Linked DNA regions of Homo sapiens: regions 2 and 3 are each linked to region 1. Evidence: promoter capture Hi-C in 16 types of primary human blood cells and fetal thymus (Javierre and others, 2016). All regions are on one chromosome and are shown on one strand. The core of a region is centred on a gene start or on the middle of the fragment in contact, and the rest is flanking DNA. Distances in the headings are between cores, read along the strand shown.

What was found. The method cuts DNA at HindIII sites, captures the fragments that hold promoters and counts their contacts. A CHiCAGO score of 5 or more calls a contact.
Region 2: the fragment with the promoter of B4GALT6 here is called in contact with the fragment with the promoter of TRAPPC8 in region 1 in 1 of 17 cell types (fetal thymus); the score reaches 5.1 in fetal thymus.
Region 3: a contact is called between a fragment that was not itself captured here and the fragment with the promoter of TRAPPC8 in region 1, in 1 of 17 cell types (fetal thymus). The highest score is 5.3, in fetal thymus.

What each region holds. Positions count from the first base shown.
Region 1 is chr18:31,940,593-31,945,271 of GRCh38, forward strand. It overlaps TRAPPC8 (trafficking protein particle complex subunit 8), which reads right to left and starts at 2,536. Exons shown (of 29, transcript NM_014939.5): 1 at 2,016-2,536. The coding sequence starts at 2,172. RefSeq lists enhancers at 1,431-2,209, 2,311-2,520 and a silencer at 2,141-2,260. The HindIII fragment of the contact is 12,839 bases long and covers 1,243-4,679 here.
Region 2 is chr18:31,682,953-31,687,520 of GRCh38, forward strand. It overlaps B4GALT6 (beta-1,4-galactosyltransferase 6), which reads right to left and starts at 1,629. Exons shown (of 9, transcript NM_004775.5): 1 at 1,360-1,629. The coding sequence starts at 1,474. RefSeq lists a silencer at 1,726-2,765. The HindIII fragment of the contact is 10,803 bases long and covers 1-4,568 here.
Region 3 is chr18:31,663,993-31,668,947 of GRCh38, forward strand. It overlaps B4GALT6 (beta-1,4-galactosyltransferase 6), which reads right to left. Exons shown (of 9, transcript NM_004775.5): 2 at 2,264-2,380. Among named protein-coding and RNA genes, the nearest start is that of B4GALT6, 18 kb to the right of the region's middle. The HindIII fragment of the contact is 1,633 bases long and covers 788-2,420 here.

The DNA.
Region 1 (4,679 bases), core at 1,286-3,785:
GGTTCAAGTGATTCTCCTGCCTCAGCTTCTCGAGTAGCTGGGACTACAGGCGCCCACCACCACGCCCAGCTAATTTTTGTATTTTTAGTAGAAACGGGGTTTCACCATGTTGGCCAGGATGGTCTCGAACTCCTGACCTCGTGATCCACCCGCCTCGGCCTCCCAAAGAGCTGGGATTACAAGCGTGAGCCACCGCGCCCGGCCGAAAATTTTTTAATTATACCTGTGACTCACATTATATTTCAATTAGACAGCACTGCTCTATGGTGTAAATACATAATTCTAAATACTGTCAGGAGATAAGATGATTAAGAACACAATGTCTTGAGTCACACTGCCTGTTTCAAATCTTTCCCAGACGCAAAACTGTGAACAAATTAACACTTCTATGCTTCAAGGTCCTCAAATTTAAAATTGCAATAACAGGATTCAATGAGGACTAAAAAAGAAAAGTTACACAAAGCAAGTATCAGGTATTAGCATTATTATTATTTATTAAGAAAGAAGGAAAGAGTACACATATAAAAGTAAAACTAGCTCAAGTGTTTGTGTTTTTTTAGGAATTCAAGGCCGGGCGCGGTGGCTCACGCCCATAATCCCCGCACTTTGCGAGGCCGAGGCGGGCAGATCACCTGAGGTCGGGAGTTCGAGACCAACCTGACCAACATGGAGAAACCCTGTCTCTACTAAAAATACAAAAATTATCCGAGTATGGTGGCGCATGCCTGTAATCTCAGTTACTCAGAAGGCTGAGGCAGGAGAATCGCTTGAACCTGGGAGGCGGAGGTGGCGGTGGGCTGAGATCGCGCCACTGCACTCCAGTCTGGGCAACAAGAGCGAAACTCCATCTCAAAATAAATAAATAAATAAATAACAAAAAAATAAAAAACGTAGGGCATTTTGTTGCTCTTAAGTCCAACACTGAAGGAACTGAGACTGATGGCTACGATACAGGCTAAAGAAAATCCAAAAGTTTCCAAACTTTGTTTTTTTGGACAGCTCCCTCTCTCCGCTAAAAACAAAAGCTAATTTATAATGGAACTATTCTCCCAAAAAACATGGTAGCGCAAAAATGGTACAGCACTGATTTTTTTTGTGGATAAGTCATATTAAGCTAACAAACATCACAGTCGTTTGCCTGACACAGGCTTATTATGAAACCCTTCAGTTCTTACCGACCTTAACAAAAAAAACTTTACTTGGACTTTGTTGTTTGCAAGATATTGGCTAAAACATGCTTGAAGCTTTACCACATTATTTTCTCCTAATAAAAAAATCCAAAACTGGAGAAAACGGGTAGCTTCTTAACAAGACATTCATTAACAAGAGAAGACATTTCCATCCCTATAACTATAGATAACTCCAAATATCCAGGTTAAATTAACCACAACTTGGGCTTGCTTCCTCTTCCTTAGGGCAAAAAGCTGCTTCAAGTTTTATTCTTCTTATAATACTTTTAATTTTCTTGAGAGGTTAAGCAAAATACCGTATAGCTAAGAATATATTAGTAAAACAGCTACACGGTAGTTCAGACAGAGATGACCCTCAACGCTACAAGAATGTAATAACATCCACAACTACTTTCAAAGTCCAGTTTAACATCCAAGGGAGGATGACAGGTCTTCCTTACTCAGACCCTGTCGGTCTAAGAGGCAGCATTTTCCTACCTTAGCTGCTTTGCAAGTGCCTAATTCCTTCGCTATGGCCGTGGAGAACAGTCTCAATGCCGTTCTCGAAGACTCACGTTTATCTTTGCACCAATTACTTAACGACCTAGGTTGTCCGAGGAAGAAAGGAAGTGCCCAGAGAAACTGGAGCTTAGGACTGCGCTGTCTTGACAACCTCACGGTCCCTCCTCCAGCCGCCCCCGGAGCACCGCGGGGCCACAGCCCCAGACGCCACGGTACCGGCTCCAGGACGTAAACACTGCCCTTCTCTTCCCTGCCCGCCCGCAACTTCCTTCTCCCGACCACGGCTTTGCGGGAGCCCACTGGAAAAGGGAGGATACCACATACCCTCGGAAGTGAGGCGGGAGAAGGGCTTAAGCAGCTCCGCGAAGCTGAGGTGATTGAGACGAGTGAGCCGCTCGGCTTCGTCGCTGCACAGCGCAGCGACACAGGGGACGAAGGAGTCCGGGATTAGCTCCTGCACTGATTGTACACACTGGGCCATCGCCGCAGCACAGGCAGCGGCGGCGCCCGCCCTCCGGCCCACCCTGCGAGGTTATCCTGCGGCTGCAGCAGCTACCGCCGCCGCCCGCCGGCCTGGCCCGGCCGGGCGGGGCCCCGAACGCACTGGAGCCTAGAAACAAGAAGGAACAGACGCCGCCGCTTCGGTTTCTGGGGCACAATCCACTGACCCCCCCCTTCCCGTCACCGCCGCTTCTCAGCGCTCGTCCCCGCGTGCTCGCATTCCACCCCGATAGGTGGAGACGCCGACAGTCACCACTTAGTCCTTCGGACGGCAAAACCTTGGTCACTGCCCGGCCGGAACCGCCATGTTGAGGCCGAACCCTGACCAACCGGCAGTACTACTCCCAGCTGCCCCCGCGCGCGTCCCTCACGTGACTGTGTTAAAGGAGACGGTAGGGGCAAGGGAAGAGAGCTGAGGAGAGGGAAGTGAAAAACGACGGAGGCCGGTTGGGAGGCTGGAGCCGGAAGTGTTGTGACGGAAGCTCCCTGGGCGGGGCGGGGCTACAAGTGCGGTGGGCGGGGGCGGGGGCGGGGGCGGGGGCGGGGGGAGGTGCACAACTGTAGGCCGGGTTCTCAAGCTCGCCCTTAGCAGAGCAGAGCTGAGAGCCACCTACTAGCGGCAGGTGGAGCCTCGAGACGGGTGCTGTCGTGGTGATGGAGGCGCACGCTCGCTTCCCACGCAGTTTGGCCTTTTTGACGTCCCTGGCTGTTGTGGGCAACCGATTTGGTTGGTCGCGCTGCTTCCTACGCTCGCCGGCGGAGCAGCTAGTGGCACCTGCTCGGAGAGAGGGAGTGGATCTCTCGGAAGTGCTTGGGGTTTCGCTGAAGCGGACCTGAACAGACCATGTGTCCTTTAAATACAGCCATGCTTTTAGAAACGGACTGTCACTTTATGTGGACTCAACCATTGAACAGAATGTGTGCTTTTGTGAGTGCTGCAATTCCTTCAAGTGTAATTGCGCTACTGCATTTTTGTTGGTCGCAGGGAAGGGGTGTGCCTGCAAATGTCCGCGTGGTTCGTCCTCAGCCTCTTCCTTTTTACACTGTGCTAGGATGTTTACTTGCTTGTGGTGGAGGTAGGGGAAGCCAGTATTTGTGTACTGTGTACTGTCCTGAACCGGCTTTCATTCCTAACTTTTCAAAGATTGCTTTAAAGGGGGGGGGGCGCGGGTCAAATATTGTTTTAAAGGGGGGGACGGGGTGAGGTCAATGGTGTGTGCCTTGTAAGTAGAAATGAATGAAAGGAATTTTACTAATGTGTCACTCAATTGTTTGAGCTCCTTCTGTTTTGCATGCCAAAAATATAAGGCAAGGAAAAATGTATCATTCTATCATGATTTTATGGTGCTCTAATTAAAGGTGTCTTCCCCAACGTCAATGTCTCAAATTTTTCGACTTCTTGACACCCTCAGGTTTTCACTAAGGTAATAATTTATGACAAGTAAGATGTGTGCTTCTCATGTAAGTTGATAAATGGGAGGTAGGAAGGCACAGTAGGACATATTGATGACATGCCTTGGCTACAGATTAATTTATAAGAGAGTCCATCACTTTAGGAGATTTATTTGCCGAAGTTAAGTACGAGCCCAGGAAACAGGTCTATGCCTTTCTTCGAAGATGATTTTGAGTGCTCCAAATTTAAAGGGGAAAGGGCGGGATATTGAGAAGCACACCGTTTTCATGTAAGGGGGCGGTAGGAGAAAATAGTAATTCTTGCCTTTCTCTGGCTCAGTGAATCTGCATTTTTTACATAAGATGACATAAAATGGGCAGAGGAAGAATGTGGGAGTCTGCATTTTTCATAAGATAACAGACAAAATGGGGTAGGGGAACAATCAGATAGGCATTTGTGTCTGGCGGGCTGGGGTGGCCACCTGTAAAGATAAGCTATCAATTTGCATTGCCATGAAGTTTTAACAGCACACTAAGAATTTCCTTGTGGGCAAAATACGGGGGAGAGATGTAGCTTTTCATCTTGCAGCAATCTTATTTAGGAACCAAAAGGGGGAGGCAGATTTGCGTGACCAGTCCCAGCGTGACTTTTCCCTTTGGCTAAATCAGTTTGGGGTCCCAAAATTTAATTTCCTTTTGCAAGAGATAACATGTTACACACAATCCCTTTTCAATGCTTCTGATTCACTTCCTTACCCTTTATAATGTGAGAATCTCACATAATTTAGTGTGACTCAAGTTATAAGATACATTTTTTATAACAGGACTCCCAAATGCAAACATACTATTTATCTAGTACTCTAAAAAGTTTCAAAGGCCATTTATTTTTATGCTGAAAGTAAAAACAGCTGAATTAGACTCTTTGAAAAGGACTTTCAATGGTAATTTAGCCAAAATAGATTTTTCTGAGATATAATTCACATGCCATAATATTTACCCCTTCAGATGAGTGTACAATTCATTGGTTTTCAGTTTATTCCAAAAGTTGTGCAACCATTACTACTATCTAATTCCAGAACATGTTCATCCCAAAAA
Region 2 (4,568 bases), core at 379-2,878, 260 kb before region 1:
GGGTAGGTTTTTGTGAGGTTTTTTGTTTTTTCTGGCCTAAAGGAAAACTGCAATAATGTTAAAATATTCTTCAAACTTTACCCTAAAACTTCTATTTTGGGATACGTCAACGTTTCACAATGCATTTCTTCTTAAACATCATCATCTGAGTTTATACACCTCACTGAATCCAAAAATTAATTATTAAAGAAAAAGTCTCATAGTAATTTTAAGAAATGAAGCAGTCTGGATTAGGTTTCCATCTTCCTTCCCTGCTGCAATTCACTGCAATAATCTACTACACTCAAGACAATGCCCTGATCATTCCATCTGAAAATTCTGCAGGTGTTTTCACTCTGTAAGGGGCATTACATTTTTAGCTAACTCGGAACAAAGAGCACTGGCTCAAACGACCACAGTGTGTAAGGAGAAATGAGAGGAGATGCTCACTGTTACTAAGTAATTGAACATTAAATACGTAATAGCCAGGAAAAACTCAGAAAAGTTTTGGAAATATGACATATTTTAATATGCATGTGAAGTTCATAATTCTCATTCACTAGAATTAACGCCGCATTGGCTCCTTTTCAACAAATGGGGGACGAGGAATTCGGATATTTAATAAAGAAGTTAATTCAAGCAGTTTTACAAAAGTGTATTTTGCACCAAAGGCCAAAAAATGATAAACCGGTTAACATTTTAAACTACAAGTTCCCTTAGATAACGGTTATTTTAATCACTATTTTCTCAGAAGTCATCCTAACAGGTAGCAAAGGCAACGTACCCTTGAAAATAACACCCAAGCAGACTAAAATAATGGAGCATTGTTTTTACAAGACAACTCATCGCCTTAAAATTCCCCAAGTATGGCACAAAAAGAATGGGGTCCACTGACCCCATTCTAAAAAAGCGACCTAGGACCCTAGAAAACACACATTGTTGGACTCAATCACATTCCCTGCTGCTGGCTCCTCCATATTTTTACAACCAGTTATTATACCCGAGAGTGTTTGAATAAAACTACGATTAAGCACTCAGTTTAGGCTTAAAGACTTAACATTAAATGGATAAAGCTGTCATGAACACTCAAGAAAGCGACTAGGGCATCCCGGGCCATCACACTAATTTTGCTACGTCTATTTAATGCAATCTTTTACGTTATTAACAAACATGCATTAACAAAATGCATGCATTAACAAAACTCACATACCAAAGCCATGCCCTGAAGCAGTTTGACACGTCTGAAATAACATTTAAAACAAAACGCTTTTCTGCGGGCCCCTGTTTGAACAGCTTCCAAATCCCAGAAGTAACATCGGATAACAGCCTGCGCTGGCTGTGGTGTGACCAGGGGAAGCGAGGGTGTGTCTCGGTGCTTACCGATGCCTGGGGCCACATAGATGAAGTACAGACAGGACGAAGAGAGGGAGAAGAAGAAGATGAAGGCGAGGAGAGAGCGATTGGAAACCCGCATCATCCGCCTGAGCACAGACATCTTCCTCTTCCCTGCCAGCAGCCCAGGCTGCGCTCTCAGGCCGGACTCGGGGCCACTGTCCAGGCCCTAAACTTCCATAAATGTGCTGAGAACCCCGAGACTGCAGCGGGGTCCGCGCGGGGAGGCTCTGGGGAGAGGGCCCGAGCGGAAAAGAGGAAATGGGAGGGAGCGGACGGAATGAATGGGAGGCCAGAGAGTCGGGGGAGGGGAGGCGCGGAGGCCGAGGGACAAGAGGTGGAGGGGGGAGAGGGGACTGGGGGCTAGGGGCCCGGGGACGGCAGGACGGAAGAAAGCCGGGGAAGGGCGAGGAGGAGCGTTTTCTCCGCCAAGCAGCGGCGGGAGGAGGGGCTGCAGGTGGGAGGAGGCGCAGGCTGCGCGCCGCGGCGCCCCTGCGGAGAGGGGCAGCTAACTGCAGCACGCCCGGCTCCGCTGCCCGCGCCCGGCGGGGTCCCGCCGCGAAGCCCCGTGCTTAAGGTCCGGGCCGCCCGCGTCCGCTCGGCAGGCCCTGCGCCGCCTCCTACTCCGGGCCGCGGCGTCTCCTGCCTGCGCGGGGCTAGCGTGGGCGCCGGGGCCGCAACCAGCGCGCGCCACGCGCGGGGGCCCGCGGGGGCCCTCGGGGCCGAGGAGCTGGGCGCTCGCCTGCACCGAGCCGCCTCCTCATGCCGCGCCGGGCCCCGGCGCCCCGCGGCCGCCGCGGGAGCTGAGCACAGGCCAGGGCGGCGTCCCGGCCAGCGACGAACGCGCTCCGACTCCGGCCGCCGCCAGCTGCCTGCCTGGCCGCAAGGGCGGCAGCGGCATTACCGCCGCGCGCCCGGGGTGAGGCGCCCCCGCCGGGCCCGCGGACACCAGGCGAAGAGCAACCGGGCGACGCGCGCTGCGGGCAGAGCCGGGGAGCCGGAAGAGCAGAGGCCGAGCGCCGTCGGAGCCGCGTCTGGTTGGAGAAAGAGGCGGACGTGAAGGGGCGGGGGAGCCGCGGAGGAAAACCGGGACCGGCGGGAACGTCTCGAGACCCCTGCGCGCTTCGCGCGCTCGCTCGGAACTCGGCAGGCGGCGCTGCGCCGGGCCCCGAGGAAACCTGGAGGTCCCCGCCCTCCCCGCGCCCGAAACACCGCGCGTCCTGATAGGCCCGCGCCCAGCAGCCCCCTCCCCGCGCCCGCCGCACCGGGGCCCCACCGCCTCCTGCGTCACCGCCGCCCCCGCCCGCCCGGGGACCCCGCGGTGACCGCGCTGCTGGGGGTTGAGGGACGCGTTGCGAGCCCCGGATACATTGTACCCTGGGGGTACATAATGAAGGATGCTGTACCTGAAAGGAAAAGGGCATCTCCAAAAGGGGACTTCGCGGGTGGAATTTCCTTCCAAAATCCTCGAGGAACAAGGTGTATTTCCGACCTGGATTAATGAATCCCCCCTCCTATCCCGCACTTCCTGTGGAAACAGTGTCAGGATGTGGCGCGGACCTATGTGCGTCCCTTATACCAGGACTTGCCTTCAACGCTGAAGGTGAACCCTGGGTCATCCTCGCTGTATTCAGGCGGCGCTGCAAAGGCTTCTGGGCAGCCAATAGGCCCTTGAGCGCCTCAGCCCCATCTTGCTTCAGTAGGCAAACGGACGGGTGTCTTCATCCACCTCCTAGGCCGTGGTCTACCCTTCGTTCAAATGTTTCTTCCTGCTAGCTGACTGTCCAGGTCCTTAGCTGTATCACATTGTTCAAATGTGTGTGCGCAGGTGTTTCTTTTTCAACTAATCATGCAGGAAGTGGCGGGATGCCTTACTGCCATTATTTGCTGAGTATTTCCAGATGGAACTGTAGTTGATAGCCAATAAATTTGGTACGTTTTTATCGGGATGCGCATGCCATAGATCGTCCCTGAGATAATGCTTTGCAATGTGGAACCTGAAACACCTATGTATAAGCCCAAGCCTTTCATTAATATTAACTGTGAGACCCCTGGAAGCTACTACTTTGTGTGAGCCTGTTTTCTCCGCCCTCAAACAGTGGATATAATACCCCCTTGCAAGGCTGTGAGATTAAATGGATAACTGTGCATAATGCTAAGCATGGTGTCTGGGACGTAAGAGGTTCCTTATATCCCATTAGTTCACTAGGTGGGATCACCAAGTTGAAATTCATTTTTTAATATTTTGCTTGTTGGAGTACTCACAACTCAACTTCTCTGGCTAATTTGATGTTTAATTTGAAAGGTAATGACACTATTTTGTAACATTTTTAGATGCTTAAGGGAAATTTGAAATGCAAAGTGGAACAACATTAAAAGGAAACTCATTTGTAAAATAAAGAAAAACAAAATCTATGCAAGCCAAAGAAGTCATGAATGCTGAGGAAGCAAAAATTGTGATTTTCCCCTCTCCAATCCCACTGTTCATTTATCTTTATTTGCATCAGTTAGACTGGTTGTTTACAAAGCTAATACCACCATACCACTAGTCAAAAGAGAGTTCCATACCTTTGCTGACCTAGTGGTAGACCATTCTTCTCAGGCAAGGTTGGCTTTTTCAAAGGAAAGTTTACTATAAACTGAGAGAGAAGTAGTAACATTATAGAATTTGATGATTCATCTATAAGAAATCTGAAGACTGTACAGATGAACCTAGCTGGCATAGATGACTGCCATCGGTTTCTCCCCTAATTTTAACCCTATCTCTTGATTTCTCTTGTTCGGCAAGTGTCCCCCACGGTACTTGTTAAGACTGATTAGCTCTCCCCAGGAGTAGACTTTTATCTGTTGTACCAGAAAACAAGCCTAGTCGGTGCAGCCATTGTTGTGAGGATTAAATTAAATGAATTAATGCCTGTAAAGAGCATGGGAGAGGCTGGTACATGGTAAGCACCATTCGAGTATTTGTAAAATATATTTTTAGAAATCTCTCCTTGCAGTCACTCTCTGTCCACAGTAACAAATGATGGTTGTCTCTTTCTGCTTAAACACCAAATTTCCTAGTGGGTCACCCATTAAGTCTGTCTCTCATAGTCTGAGGGATGCCTCAGGGTCTCAGCTCATGTTTAAAACAGAGATAGATTAAATACTCAGTGCACAGGAAATGCTAACTGAGCCTTTCCAAACCCACAATATCA
Region 3 (4,955 bases), core at 354-2,853, 280 kb before region 1:
CAAGACTATATTTCCCAGTGTTATCGCATGTGGCCATGCAATTAAGTTCTAGCCAATTAAATGTATGAAGAAATACTGTGTGGGACCTCTGGGAAGGCTCCAGAAAAGAGGTACCTTATTTGTTCTTCTTTGTTCTCGCTTTCCTCCTTCCTACTGACCCAAGTTCAAACAGCAGCCATCTTAGACTATGAGTTAACCATGGAGCCACATGACAGATGGCAGAAAATGAAAAGTGTGTGATGACTTACTTTAAGGAGCCTCCATAACAGCCACAGATATCCAACTTGCAGAGTTCTTTCACATGAGAACAGAAAGCCTCATGTGTTTAAACCACCACAGGCAGGTCTCTGTTACATCCAAACCTAATCCCTAATGTATACAATGACTGTTTCCTGAGAACAGTTTTACCATTAGTAAAGGAACCCTATGAAAAGTTTTCAAAGTTTCATAAAAGTAAGCAAACTTTAATCTAAGTATGCATTGGTTCTTTGGTCTTTATTGAAACTATGACTTGGTGAGAGGAGGAAAGGATTTTCCTTTTTTTTTTTTTTTGGTTGCAGGATACTATGGGGAAAGATTGTCTTGCCCATGTAATCATTCCTCCTAATCAAGCTCAACATCCACACATATACCTTATTCATACCCCAGGGAAAACAAGCTGATATGCACAAATTTTTAGCACTCACACAAATACACCAATTTAAAGATGTCTATTTCCTTTCAGTTGAACAAACTTTCAGTGAACATTTTTACAATCAACTTATTCAACCAGCACAAATCCTACAGAAGCTTTTAAAATGTTTAAACTTCTAAAATTGACCTACTATTCAGAAGACTCATTCATGCTAAAGAATAGTTAATGAGACTTTTACTGTAGAATTAAAACATCAACTATGCTGAGGCAGTTCTTCTAAAAAAATTCCTTCAAGGTTAAAAAATTAAAATAAAACAAGAGTGTTTTGATTTGTGGCATCATAAACATATTAGGCAAATGACTAGAATGGATTTTATAGAAGCACATGTGATATTAAATTGAGATCAATATGTCACAGTCTTGAATTTTTAGAAGGGTCTAAAACTATCACCCACCTTGACATACATTTAAGAAAGAACATCTACAGCTGAAAGACAGACTTTCTCTTAGTAGAATGTGTAGGTTTACAGTGACACAAGGAAGAATTACTAACACAAATTAAATCTTTATTTTTAACTGTTCAAAATGAGACCATAAAGGGTACAACAACTGACAACCCCACTGAATCCTTTAAAGTAACACCTAATAATACCCTGGCAGACACTGTGGCAACCCTGCCATAAACGAGCATTCACATTCTTCCACAATAGTGAAATCTATTTACATCAATTCTACCATCATTAAATTATTGGTTCAGCCTATTAGATTTTAACCTCCTGGAATTCTAATGGAGCTTCTACTTCCAGGTAACATTTTAAAAAGACAAGAGTAGGCCGGGCACAGTGGCTCATGCCTGTAATCCCAGCACTTTCGGAGGCTGAAGCGGGCGTATCACGAGGTCAAGAGATTGAGACCATCTTGGCTAACATGGTGAAACCCCGTCTCTATCAAAAATTTAAAAAAAAATTAGCCGGGCGTGGTGATGGGCGCCTGTAATCCCAGCTACTTGGGAGACTGAGGCGTGAGAATGGCGTGAACCTGGTAGATGGAGCTTGCAGTGAGCCAAGATTGCGCCACTGCACTCCAGCCTGGGCAACAGAGCGAGACTCTGTCTAAAAAAATAAATAAGTAAAATAAAAAGGAGTAGCTACCAATTTCCAATTTTATAAAATTTCTCCTTTAGCTCCTTAAAAAGGCCATAACACTATTAACAATCTTCTATAATTAAAAACAACTATTTTCTAGACCTAGTTGGAAGAACAACTTAGGAACTAGAATGAACATAAAGAGAGATGGTAGTATGGCTTACTAAGATGAATAAATTATTCTCTGGTTAATTTCTCTTAAATACAACATACGAATTGAAAAAGTAGAAGCTGCTTTCTATATTTTGTTTACAAGAATTAACTTAAGTGTCTGTACAAAACCTCATCACTTTTGTGACCACACGTTCATACATCCTAAAATAGGTAACAGTCTTGATTTGCACAGTAAAATAATCTACCAGGACGCTTAGGGGAAGATACCTTCTTCATCTTTAACAGGAAGTTACCTGAAGGCAAAACAGACTGTAAAAGATTTGGTTTACTGCTTTGTAACTACAAGGGGTTAAGCAGGAAGTAGTCTTACCTGTACCGTTGAGCGTACTGTTTTTATTTGTGTACAGCCTGATCATATGACCTATTGTTTTCACATTTTCTCTCAACATTATACCTCGAGCTTGTACCATAAAGAGATATGTGTTGGCTATAAAAGAAAAATAGAGAAAGAATGTCATAACACAGTAAGCTTTTTTTTATTTAATAAAATAATATTCAGAATTGGGGAAGTGCCCAATAAACATAAACTGACTCAATCAGCACGTCCAAACGCAAAACAGAAATATAAAATATTGCCTACTATAAAAACTGACAAAAACAAACTGATTTTTTAAGAATAAAAACAAAAAAAAAGTTGAAATACCCACCTATCAAATAGAATGAAACTAACTGAACAAACTAAAATATTATAATGAACCCCCACATCTGTGATTTTCTACTATAAAATATACTTAGAAATTTCAAAAAGGCATTTTATTACAGATGCTCAATCCTACAGTTACAAAATTCAGTTTCTCTAATTATATATTAATTTCCTACCAAAAACTTCACAAAAGCTAGGATTCCTTATAAATCCCATAATATCTAGTAGGAATAAAGATCTTGCAATGGTCCTGAAAATTCTTGATGTGTTTGCGGGGAGGGGTGATCTAGGATCAGTATCTGTTTGGGTCATTTCTAAGAGTTAATTAAACTTTTACACTCCCTTTCAATCACAAATCTTTCTACCAGGATGGTAAAAGCAAATAAAATCAAAATCAATGTGTATTTTTAAAGCAGCTCAATTTAATTATTCACAATAAGTGCTTCAAAAATAGGACCCAAATTTCTTCTGCTGGGAGAAACTGGTAAATTGACAAAGCTTTATCGCAAAAATCCCTAACTTTTGAGATGTCCAGACTCCCCAGAGGCACAGAACTAAGTCAGAAACTCCTTTCCTGGTCCCAATTCTGTTAGTGCTGTGCATAACTTTGTACAGCTCCTTGGATCTCAGTTTCCTCGTTTTCACAAGGCAGGTGTGCAAGTAGTGCATTCTTCTTTAAAGTCTCTAAACACAAAGCTAAAAAATCATAAACTCCATTCAGATGAGAGGCAGAGGCTCACTATCATGGCAAAAACCAAGAAACTGCAAGCCTCAGTGAATGACTCAATTTTAAGATAAGCTGTCTCTGAATACAGTAATGACACTCTCCAAAGATGAATGCTGAATGAAAAAAATTAGGAATGCTGACTAATTTTCTAAGTGCTGCTCCAGTTTCTCAAGATGGAATAGAGGGATGAGAGAAATTTAATGTTTACTACCTTCTTTCCCACTTTTTATGTAAATGTGAACTTGCTCAAAGTACATATGAAGAGAGCATAAATTAAACTACTAGAAAAGCAGAGTAAAATAAAACTTTTCTTTCACCTCCAGAAAAAAGAGACAAACAGAAATCCAGGTTTCACATAAGCTTTACAGATACCTTTTTTAAAAGCATGTCTACAGGCTTTCTAGAAAGTAGTCTTATAATTAGATTTAACTTGCCTACACCTGAATTTACTATACTAGTTTACAAATACAACACATTTTGACTACATTTTTGTACTTAAGTGGACTTTAAAAGAATGAAGACTCACGCCTGTAATTCCTGGGAGGCCGAGGCGGTTGGATCATGAGGTCAACAGATCGAGACCATCCTGGCCAACATGGTGAAACCCCATCTCTACTAAAAATACAAAAAAATCAGCTGGACATGGTGGTGCAAGCCTGTAACCCCAGCTACTCAGGAGGCTGAGGCAGGAGAATGGCTTGAACCCTGGAGACAGAGGTTGCAGTGAGCCGAGACTGCGCCACTGCACTCCAGCCTGGGCGAGGGAGCAAGACTCCATCTCAAAAAAAAAAAAAAAGAATGAAGAACACAGTCATAAAAAAGAACAAAATCATATGCTTTGCAACAACATGGATGCAGCTGCAGGCCATTATCCTAGCGAATTAACACAGGCACAGAAAACCAAATACCGCATGTTCTCACTTGTAAGTGGGAGCTAGACACTGGGTACTCATGAACAAAAGATGGCCAGCAACAGAAACTGGGGACTACTACAAGAGGGAGGGACAAAGCGGGGCAGAAGTTTAAAACTACCTATTGGGTACTATGCTCACTACCTAGGTGGCAGGATCAATCATACTCCAAACCTCTGCATCATGCAATATACCCATGTAACAAAGTTGCACATGTATGCCCTGAATCTAAAATAAAAGTTGAAATTATTTAAAATAAATAGACCATATGGGGGAAAAACTTATTCACACAATTTAAATATATATTCATAAGTAAGGTTTGTGGGTTTTTTGCCATCTATGTTTTTGTTCTTAATGTTAGTTTCATAAAATAGACTGTACACATTGCTGTCATTTTCTTAACTCTGCAACAACTGATATAGTGTGGCAGATATTAAGCCCTTAAAAGTTTGAATTGACTTCTCATAAAAAGTCATCTAAAAGTTGTAATCTGGCCGGGCGTGGTGGCTCATGCCTGTAATCCCAGCATTTTGGAAGGCCAATACAGGCGATCTCTTGAGGTCAGGAGTTTGAGACCAGCCTGGCCAACATGGTGAAATGCCGTCTCTACTAAAAAAATACAAAAAAAAAAAAAACTAGCCAGGCGTGGTGGCGCACGCCTGTAACCCCAGCTACTCGGGAGGCTGAGGCAGGAGAATCACTTGAACCCAGGAGGCAGAGG